2 separate regions of the Homo sapiens genome follow, and region 1 is linked to region 2. Evidence: promoter capture Hi-C in 16 types of primary human blood cells and fetal thymus (Javierre and others, 2016). All regions are on one chromosome and are shown on one strand. The core of a region is centred on a gene start or on the middle of the fragment in contact, and the rest is flanking DNA. Distances in the headings are between cores, read along the strand shown.

Region 1 (5,259 bases), core at 260-2,759, 270 kb after region 2:
CTATTTAAGTAGTACCGATCATTTAGAGATGCCTGCTGAGATATTCATGGATGACATGCAAAAACTGGCATTGGATTCAAAAGCACATTGAGCATAAAAGATGTGAAATGGCCAGGCACAGTGGCTAATGCCTGTAATCCCAGCACTTTGGGAGGCCGAGGTGAGTGGATCGTCTGAGTTCAGGAGTTCAAGACCAGCCTGGCCAACATGGTAAAACCCTGTCTCTACTAAAAATACAAAAAGCAGTTGGGCGTGGTGGTGGACGCCTGTAATCCCAGCTACTTGGGAGGCTGAGGCAGGAGAATTTCTTGAACCCAGGAGGCGGAGGTTGCAGTGAGCTGAGATTGCGCCATTGCACTCCAGCCTGGGCGACAGAGTGAGACTCCATCTCAAAAAGAAAAATAAAAGATGTGAAACTTGCCTCAAAAGTAAGCTTTCATTCCTTTGTTAACTTTGTTGCTTTGAGTGTTCTGTGTGTTACATAAATGACTCAAAAATCCCATCTGACACAACTCCAGAAGGCTTTCTGGTTTGCTGTCAGTCATGGGCATATTTATGGGCATGACACACACACAGATGAGCCATTTAAATAGGATTTTGAGCATTGCTAATTTTGCTTCAGAAAGATTTGTTTGATTTTGATGCCTTTTGCTTAATCCCTACATATCTGGTCTTCAAATATGAACTATTAAATCATATATCCAACACCTTCTATATATGTAATACTGAATATTAATAATTGGCATAAATAATTACAACTCCACAGCACTGCAGAAGAGAATGTCATTAAAGAGGCTAGTCAGTAATATACATCCAGCCAATGTTTGTTGAATGAATAAATGAAATTTCATTTAGCATATTTAATTTTTGTGAAAGCAAAAGAGTATTACACTACTAATACATTCCTCTTGTTCCATGAATAATTATTGATTATTTAATGTATTTTACACGATTTTCAGGAGCAATCGTTATAGTAAAAATGTAGTAGTTTTTAATACTTATGCAGAAAAGCACATAAAACAGAATGCTCCTATGTTCCCTTCTTTTTACATTAGGAAACATTTTTTTCTTTATTTAAAAATGAAATTTTTCAGTATAAACTATTATATGGTAACTAACAAAACATTTAAAAGTACTACAGTCTTTTTCTTTCATCACCAGATACAACCACTATTAATATTTTAATTTCCTTTTTAGTTTTTAAAAATAAAGCTGTAATAATATTAAGGAGAATTTTTGTCTTCAATTTCAGAGACAGAATCCTATTGCAGAAATTTTATTTTTAAATTTTCCCTTTGTGTTGCTTTTCCCCCCAATAAAACAGAAACTGCTAGGCTCTTAGAAAATGGGAACTCTTCCATCTAGTGAAATATGTACAGAAAAATAGATAATAGGCAGCCTACCCCTTCTACTAACATATCACTGCATCTTAAACTAAGGGGTCTATTTTTTTTTTTTGTCCTGGGAAAAGTGGACTCATTTTCATATCTAGAATTAATGAGGTTTAGTTTGATAAGGACTGCTTTTAGGTGGCCCTAGAGATGAGTAATAAGGACAAATTAGATATAAAATAAAATATTACTCTTTTGCAATGTTTGCTTTTCCTAAACCTCTTAGCGAAAGTCTCTGCTGTTTCTTGTCTTTTTTGGCTAGAATGGTTTCTAGGACTATGAACAACTGCTTTAAACACAGCAAACTTTCTAACTCCTTTTTATCAGGCTTAAATATGATTAAGACCTACCTTCCGTGTGCCTTCTCCCTCCTCTTCCCTCCCTCTTTCAACTTCTCCCTTCAAAAAAAAAAAAATTCCAATTTCTTTGTAGTCTCAAAGCTCAGCTGATATGAAATCGATTTTGGGAAGTGAGTTTCATACAAAATTAAAGGAAATCCATTTTATTGAAGAAAATTACCCGGCTCCTTAAAGTTCCTCATTTTGTAGCTACTTTATACTTTCCAAAGAATTTCTTTCTCTAACCCACGAAGGGTTGGGACAGATGCTCATATTCTCATTTTACCCCAAGTTAGTTAGCAACTTGGATCAGGTTAAGAAGCTCGTTCTGATAGAACCTGGATGAGAACCTGGGCCCCCTAGTCTCCTGTGTCAGAGAGTAGGAGGTTATGCTTGGGAACAGAAGGCCTACGTCCCACAACCATGACCAGCCCAGCGTTTGTGGGAGTTCAGTCCAATATAGAATCACTCTTTCAAGGTAATAACTTTACTGCGGGCTTTTACGGCCTGCCGAGCCAAATCGAAGTCATGCCATCTCCAGATTGCAGGAGCAGAAACAGGTTAAAGGGCCTCAGTCCTCCCTTAAGGTGGCCTAAGCTCCGCCTCCTCCCTGCTACATCCTGACAGGCACATTCATCTATACCTCAGCCTGTCAATTTCCACTCCCTTTTTCAGGATGAGCCTAGTGTGGACACCAAGGTGTCCGCGTGTTTCGCTCTCTATGGCCCTTGTTCTTTTCTGATGTCAGCCAGCCCTCTGTTTGCTCAAGGCCAAGGCTACATAATTACTTAGCATGGACATTTCATTTCCTTCATTTTATGTGACCTGCTGTTTCTCAGGCTTTTGGCTGCACATAATAAGCTTTTTTTTTTTAAAGTGATCTATTGTATTTTTCCATGTTCTGTTGAGCTGGGAGGAGTCGGCAGAACCTTTTTAATATCAGATATTACAAAATCCCTGGCAGAGGATGGGGGATGGGGGAGGGTAAAGCCTGGAGAGACAGGGCTAAGCAGCTTAAAAACCACACCACTCACTTCCAGTTTATTAAGTCCCTACTTGATGCAAACTTTTCGTAGGTCACCTCAAAATATTACAACAGCCTTTCATGATAAATATTAGATGCCCCATTTTACAATGTAAGAAACTGAGGGTTTAAGAAATATGGCCTGGGTCCAGGACTGAACCAGGATTCGTGACACCACAGGCAGGCTCTGTGTTAGTCTTCATTCAAATAATTTTCTCTCTCTCTTTTCTTTTCTTTTTCTTTCTTTTCTTTCTTTTCCCTCCCTCCCTCCCTCCCTCGCTCCTTCCTTCCTTCCTTCCTTCCTTTCTTCCGTCGTTTCTTCCTTCCTTCCTTTCTTTCTTTTCCTTTCTTTCATCTTTTTGGCAGGGTCTCCCTCTGTCACCCAGGCTAGAGTGCAGTGGTGCCATCATAGCTCACGGCAACCTCCACCTCCCGGGCTCTAATGATCTTCCCACCTCAGTCACCCTAGTAGCTGGAACTACAGATGTGCACCATCACACCTGGATAAGTTTTTAAATTTTTGTAGAAATGGGGTCCCACTATGTTGCTCAGGCTGGTCTCCAGCTCCTGGGCTTAAGTGATCCTCCTGCCTCAGCCTTCCAAAGCACTGGGATTACAGGTGTGAAGCACTGGACCTGGCCTAATTTTCAAATATTAAAGACATGTTCTTAGTGGAGGGCAGGCTAGCATGATGAGAGATGCTTTTTTTTAATTTTCTTTTCTTTTCTTTTCTTTTTTTTTTTCTTGAGACAGGGTCTTGCTGTGTAGCCCGGGCTGGAGTGCTGTGGTGTGATCTAGGCTTACTGCAACCTCCGCCTCCTGGGCTGAAGTGATCCTCCCACCTCATCCTCCCTGGTAGCTGGGACTACAGGTGTGTGCCACCATGCCTGGCTAATTTTTGTATTTTTGGTAGCGAAGAGGTTTTGCCATGTTGCCCAGGCTAATTTCGAACTCCTGAGCTCAAGTGATCCATTCACCTCAGCCTCCCAGAGTACTGGGATTACAGGTGTGAGCCACCGCCCCCAGACGGATGGTTTTAAGTTTCTATTGACTGGCATCGGCTACTTCAGCAGAAGCTGGATCCATAATGCATTTTGTTAGCTTTGTAAGAGTTACAGTGAGATCTGAGTTAACTATTCCTTTTCCCAAATTACCCTAGTGATGTTTTAATGCTCCTTATAAACCAGTCCCCTGCTGTGGTTCCTTCATTTGGTATGACCCCAGGCTACACAGCCAGTAAGAGGCAGAGATGGGGATTTAAAACCTGATCTTCCTGTTTGTTGCTTCTACGATCTGCCGGCACTTCTTGAGATTCATGAGCGTGTGGCCGTATGATCACTAATGAATTAACTCAATCAATATCAATTGAATGTCTATTCTGTCTTACATTTGTATACTGTTTAATGGTTTACAAACAGTTTTTGCAGGTATAATCTCATTTAAATCTTACCCAGAAACCACAGGAAAGAAGTAAGCCAGGAAATATCAAACCACCCCAAGACACAGGCAGAATACAGCCAGGATTTTAACTCCTGTCTTTTAACTCCCAGTTTTGCCACACTGTACAGGTCTGCGGTTATTGGTGTCTCTTTCAGATGTTGCTACTATCCAGCCTGGGAATATGGAAAAAAAGTGGGGGAGGAGGGAGCGAGGGTTATTTAGCTGCACTTTCAAATCAAGGAGAATGGCCACTTAAATGAGACTATTTCTTCACCCATAGCTCTGAGGATGACATTAGCAGCCCACATTAGAGGCAGAAAAAGAAATCTCCCTTCTGAAAAGACCATAATGATAAAACAACACGTTTTCTGAAATGATAGGAAGAATTTTATGTCGAATATCGTAATGGGGTCAGTAGCACTTCTCAGAAGGGAGGTCAGCAAACTGGGTCTTGGTGAGTGCATCAGATCAAAGCAAAAGAAGGAGAAGGGGCAGTGCCTTCTGTACCGAGAGGAGGAGCAGAAGCACAGGCATAGCTGTGATCCAGAAGCGCAGATTTGGGGCCCCTGGTTGCTGGATGGCCAGGGGGAGGATTTGGTGTGGGCTGGGGAGTGGCTGGAGGCTCTGGAGGCTTCCATGTCAGAGGGTATGCAGTCAAAGAGAGATAGGAGAAAAAAAATACCCCAGCTCGGAATGAACTGATGGATGGAAGGAGGAGGAAAGCGCAGAGATGGGGGTACTAACGTTATTTCAATTCAGTAGTGTTCCATGAAAGGCACATAAAGGCAAAGCAAACCCAAATGCCAAAGGAGCTGAGAAATCAAAGAGACAGTTTGTTGGAACTGGGTGATTTATTGAGGGAACTTAACAACAGAAAGGTGGTCTTGGGCGGCCGCAAGACAGGCAGATCTCTGCGCTGTTACTTTCCAGACCCAGCGCTTATCTACCATAGGGAAAGGGAGTATGCGCTCCAGCAAGGTGATTAAAGGCACCCTCCAGAATAGACAAGTATGCTGCGTGCCTCACCGCCTATAATTTGTGCAGTGACGTTAAGGTTGACATGTTG
Region 2 (6,046 bases), core at 1,557-4,056:
GCTCAATTGAGACCAGCCTGGCTAACATGGAGAAACCCCATCTCTACTAAAAACACAAACAAATTAGCTGGCTGTGGTGGCACATGCCTGTAATCCCAGATACTCAGGAGGCTGAGGCAAGTGAATTGCTTGAACTTGGGAGGTGGAGGTTGCGGTGAGCCAAGATCACAACATTGCACTCCAGCCTGGGCAACAAGAGCAAAACTCTGTCTCAAAAAAAAAAAAAAAAAAAAAGATGCTCAAGTGGTCCCCGGGGATGAGAGCTGGCACTGAGAGGAGCTCACAGGGAGCTGTGATCGGGTGCCCCTCTGGTCCTGAGCCTGCTCCCTCCTTGCTTCTCTGCCTCCACTGGACTCTCAGCTTAAAGGGCGTGACTTTCAGTCCCAACTCCCTGCTGCCCTCTTTGACTGCTGATTCTAGACTCTAACTTCAGTTAATCTCAGCACAGAGCTCACAAGACACAAGCCAAGTTCCTTTCCTTGACAGTTAAGCCCAACTGTTCCCTGAGGGCTTATTACAGAGAACCCTGGGCTGGGTGCAGTGGCTCACGCTTGTAATCCCAGCACTTTGGGAGGCCTAGGTGGGTGGATCACCTGAGGTCAGGAGTTCGAGACCAGCCTAGCCACCATTAAATGGCGAAACCCTGTCTCTACTAAAAATACAAAAAAATTAGCCAGGTGTGCTGGCACTTGCCTGTAATCCCAGCTATTCAGGAAGCTGAGGCAGGAGAATCACTTGAACCCAGGTGGTGGAGGTTGCAGTGAGCCAAGATCATGCCACTGCACTCATGCCTGGGTGACAGAGTGAGACTCCATCTAAAAAAAAAAAAGCCTGAAATTTTCTAGGAATATTTGCCTTTCGTATTTCCATCCGTGTTACTGTGTCCGGAATTGGTGGGTTCTTGGTCTCACTGACTTCAAGAATGAAGCCATGGACCCTTGCGGTGAGTGTTACAGTTCTTAAAGATCGTGTGTCTGCAGTTTGTTCCTTCAGATGTTCAGATATGTCCGGAGTTTCTTCCTTCTGGTGGGTTCGTGGTCTCGCTGACTTCAGGAGTGAAGCTGCAGACCTTCGCGGTGAGTGTTATAGCTCTTAAAGGCAGCACGTCTGGAGTTGTTTGTTCCTTCTGGTGGGTTCATGGTCTTGCTGGCTTCAGGAGTGAAGCTGCAGACCTTCCCGGTGAGTGTGACAGCTCATAAAGGTGGCATGGACCCAAAGAGTGAGCAGCAGCAAGATTTATTGCGAGGAGTGAAAGAACAAAGCTTCCACAGCATAGAAAGGGACCTGAGCTGGTTGCCGCTGCTGGCTGGGGTGGCCTGCTTTTCTTCCCTTATCTGGCCCCACCCACGTCCTGCTGATTGGTCCATTTTACAGAGAGCTGATTGGTCATTTTGACAAAGTGCTGATTGGTGCGTTTACAAACCTTTAGCTACACACAGAGTGCTGATTGGTGTGCTTACAATCCTTTAGCTAGACACAAACGTTCTCCAAGTCCCCACCAGATTAGCTAGACACAGAGCGCTGATTGGTGCTTTTACAATCCTTTAGCTAGACAGAAAAGTTCTCCAAGTCCCCACCATCCCAGAAGCCCAGCTGGCTTCACCTCTCACTGGCACTAGCCACGGGACTTTGTGGCACCTATCCGGAGCACCTAGCCCGGGCACTCCAGCAGCCTAGAGGGAGCTCGTCCCAGACAATCAAGAGCAAAAGACGGGAAGCAAGAAAGAGATGGAGACCCGCCATCGTGGCCAACGTTCTGGTCCACGCACGGGATTCAGCCTCTGATCAAGCCCCAGTTCCCGCCCACGCCTCTCCCTCCACACCTCCCGGCAAGCAGAGGGAGCCGGCTCCGGCCTCGGCCAGCCCCAGAGAGGGTCCCCCACAGCGCAGCGGCGGGCTGAAGGGCTCCTTGAAGACGGAGAGAGCTGAAGCTGAGGCTGAGGAGGCGCCAAGAGCGAGCCAGGGCTGCTAGCAAGTTGTCATCTCTCATTACTAGCATTCTCTCAGGAATATCCTACCGCAGGGTTCCCGTGTTTCATATACAATTAGTGATGAGGCTAATCATCCTGATCTCAAATTTCCTCTACCTGCCCACCAGCTGACTTAAACCCCTATACTGTGGGCATGCATTCTGCCCACTCTGAAATCTTAGGATTTAACTTCTCTTGCTTCCTAGAAAATGAACCACTTTGTTCCTTTAGTCATTTATTCACTAATAATTTGTTGAGAGGTTTTGTTTTGAGGAGCATGAAGGATCTGATGTAAGAACTACCACCGGTGCTGGTGATCACAATATATGCAGCTGATTAAAGTTCCTCATTTATGCTACCTACATCCCTGGTAAGAATTTCATTCCTTCAACCAATACTTTTCATTTGAAAGCATCTCATTACGAAAGACTTCAATCTTTTAGGCTTCTGCATCTTGCAAAACAAATATGGTTCCAAAGAGCCTATCTTTTCAACAAATCTTTGGTTTGAGCCTGGATGAAACAGTTATTACAGAATCAACTGGAGAGGAAAAAATCTTCATCTAACACTGAAGTCTTTCTATTCTGCGAGGTGAAATCCTTTGACCTAGATTCTGTCCCTTGAAAGGCAAGTGACAGTAGGTGAGCCTAAGAAAATTGGTTAATTCTTGATCTAAAAAGTTAAATTCATGAACCACACTGATTTGATTACCTTGAAAATCTACCAGACAGAAAGTTCTCCCTTTTATCCACCTTCATTGTTACCTTCAGAGCAGCTCTCTCCATAGCAACTGAAAACTTTTCTGGGCTGAAATAATCCTCTCTAGCTCCCAGTGCACAGTCAAAGAATTTTAAAAACAGGGAACTTTGTAACTGTGAAATACTCTCCAGGATTTAAAAGGCTGTGGAGCTCCAGATAAAGAATCGTTTATCTTTCTTCTGAAGGTAAGCACTGGGGTTAGAAATGCTTGCATCATCCTCTGTCACTTTTAAATTGCTAACATAACAACCTTAAAGTGTTGTTGTTGTTTTTAACTCATAAAAGTAATCCCAGTACCTTTGTTACTAGCCCACAGTCATTTACCAGCTCATCTCTGGGCCAGGATCGGACATGAGATGCTGTTAACATTTTACATGCCTTAAGCCATCAACAGAAAGATAATTTTTTTTTCCAGGAAGTTGATTGGCTCTAAAGTCATCCCCCACTCCTTTAGTCACCACTGAGTGAGTGTGTGTGTGTGTGTGTGTCATGTTCTTGAGGTCTCGAAATTCTGTTTTTCTAAGATGCTTCCTGCTCTAGAATCTTGATTCTTAGTAAACTAAAAAAAAGACCTGTGTTTTCTGAACATTACTATTTTCTTCTAGTGCTTTTCCTTGTCTAAAACTCTTTTTTTTTCTTTTTTCTTTTTTCTTTTTTTTTTTTTTGAGATGGAGTCTTGTTCTGTCGCCCAGGCTGGAGTGCAGTGGCACGATCTTGGCTCACTGCAACCCCCGCCTCCCGGGTTCAAGCAATTCTTCTGCCTCAGCCTCCCATGTAACTGGGACTACAGGCACGTGCCACCATACCTGGCTAATTTTTGTATTTTCAGTAGAGACGGGGGTGTCACCATATTGGCCAGGCTGGTCTCAAACTCCTGACCTCGTGATCTGCCTGCTTCAGCCTCCCAAAGTGCTGGGATTACTGGTGTGAGCTACCGCGCCTGGCCTAAAACTTTTAAACTCAACATGATGTTGGTCATTTAGTAGAATTTATTTTCTCTTTTTCATGAGGACCATGAATCACTTGGAGTTCTTTATAATGGGATAAACATAAGGTGTTTCCCAACCTGGGTCCTATAACTTGTACCACCTGTTGGTAAATGGAGAAACTTACGTGACGCTATGTTTAGTTTAGGGAGAGAGAATCTAGCAAGCTTTTTGGCTGCTGTGCAGTTTGAAAGTCTACAGCCATGGTGCTTTCCTGCCATTTGGGGTTAGAAATTACCTACAGACCCCCGCTGTGTAGAAACAGCTTGTCATTGCAAATCAGCTTAGCCACCCAATTAATGAATCCTTTCAAACATGTTGCAGGCACAATAATTGAAGGCTTTATTTTTCCCCTTTACCACAGAAATTCCTTTGGTTACAAGTTTACCCCATAAACGGCAACACACTCACCTCCATCCAAGACAGACTCAAGGTGGAGGAAGCGTGGAAATGTGCTTCCGGACAAAGCTCTCAGTATCCTGGGTGCCATTGTTTCTTCTACTCAGCCGTGTTTTTTCTACTGAGACAGACAAACCCTCAGCCCAGGATAGCAGAAGCCGTGGGAGTTCAGGCCAACCGGCAGACCTGCTACAGGTTCTCTCTGCTGGTGACCACCCACCCCACAACCACTCAAGAAGCCTCATCAAAACATTGTTGGAGAAAACTGGGTGCCCACGGAGGAGAAACGGAATGCAAGGAGATTGCAATCTGGTTAGTGAAATAGAATGGGGTCAGGTATCAGGGCATGTCCAAAAGAAAGCAATGGATTCTATAGGGATTTATTTCAGTAAAGCAAAATCACAGGCAAATCTTCCAATATGCAATTGAGCAATGCATTCTGGTAAAATAATTTCCATATTTGGGATACAGCAAATCAGCATTCTATGTATAGCACCTAGGGACATTTTTGTTGTTGAAAGGATGATGTTTATGTAAGGCTTTCTAGAACCCTTCTGCATATTTAGAGGCATTTATTTGTGAGCGCGAACTTTTAGTCCTCTTTTCTGATTGACTAATCTTTTCTTAAAGCCTTCAGTGCACTTGCACGTGACTAGTTTTAGTTGCTATTTGTTTGCTGGAGCATAATGCGATCTGATATTTGCCCAACATTGGGTTTTTGAGTACTTTTTCCTGGCATGGTATTTTCTAATATTATGCATGGCGGGTAGTTAATGATTGGATAATCATCTTAACGATGAGGAATCTGAGCTGGGGAGACAGATGCTGCAGGTGGAGCTGAAGTCGCACCCATGGCTCCTGAGGCCTGAGTCACAGCCTGATCTTAGCCTACAAAGCGAATCTCAACCCTGATTGGAATCAGCTGCATAGGTTTCCCAGCATACCCATGTTTAGGTGTCATCCTCTAGAGACTGAGATTTTACTTGCCTGGGATAGAACTTTTAAAAGTCTCTCCAGGTTATTATTTATTTTATTTTATTTATTGTGAGACAGAGTCTCGCCCTGTTGCCCAGGCTGGAGTGCAATGGCATAATCTTGGTTCACTGCAACCTCCACCTCGTGGGTGCAAGTGATTCTCCTGCCTCAGCCTCCCAAGTAGCTGGGATTACAGGCACCCACCACCACGGCCGGCTAATTTTTTTGTATCTTTAGTAGAGATGGGGTTTCACCATGTTGGCCAGGCTGGTCTCAAACTCCTGACCTCGTGATCTGCCTGCCGCCACCTCCCAAAGTGCTGGGATTACAGGTGTGAGCCACGGCGCCCGGCCTCCAGGTCACTTTAATATGACGTCAGTGATGTCTAAGAATTTATTCATTAGGGAGGGTGGGGTAGGATGGAAGGAGGTGAGAACTCATGTGTTTAAATGACTACAAAAGAAAAAATAAAACCTACTCCACCATCCCATTCCTGACCCACGAGATTTTTTAGGACGAACCCATAAATACATAAATGAAAGCATACATAAATAAGTAAAACAAAAGCTAACAACCGTCTCCAAAATACATTTTGGCAGACTTTCTCAATCATGCAGAGGCGAGGGAGGGAGGGGAGGGGAACATTTTCTGACCAAGTGTTTTGTTTTTTCATAACAGAAGAGTTCTTGCTCATAGAGAATTTTTCTCTGCTTTGTGTGAGCAATAAATAATTCAATAATTATTAAAATACCCAATGGTTCCCAGAGGAAATGTGTTATAATAGGCAACTCATCTGTGATGACATTAATATATATAGATGGCAACACAAGATGTCCCACTGGAAATAACCAGAAGTCATCTCTTATTCATGTCCTCTGAGGATTCGCTTCAGGGGAATGTTCTCCTTTAATGACGTGAAGTGCCTTATTAAGGCTGGTTGAATAGTAGTTTTGCCAG

Evidence for each region. Contacts are between HindIII fragments. The CHiCAGO score rates a contact against its expected background, and 5 or more counts as called.
Region 1: a contact is called between a fragment that was not itself captured here and the fragment with the promoter of SLC39A12 in region 2, in 1 of 17 cell types (M2 macrophages). The highest score is 5.5, in M2 macrophages.

Annotation. Positions count from the first base shown.
Region 1 is chr10:18,222,546-18,227,804 of GRCh38, forward strand. All of the region lies in intron 2 of CACNB2 (calcium voltage-gated channel auxiliary subunit beta 2), which reads left to right. Among named protein-coding and RNA genes, the nearest start is that of CACNB2-AS2, 36 kb to the right of the region's middle. The HindIII fragment of the contact is 2,157 bases long and covers 432-2,588 here.
Region 2 is chr10:17,949,112-17,955,157 of GRCh38, forward strand. SLC39A12 (solute carrier family 39 member 12) reads left to right here and starts at 2,807. Exons shown (of 13, transcript NM_001145195.2): 1 at 2,807-2,914; 2 at 4,080-4,426. The coding sequence starts at 4,166. The HindIII fragment of the contact is 2,620 bases long and covers 1,261-3,880 here.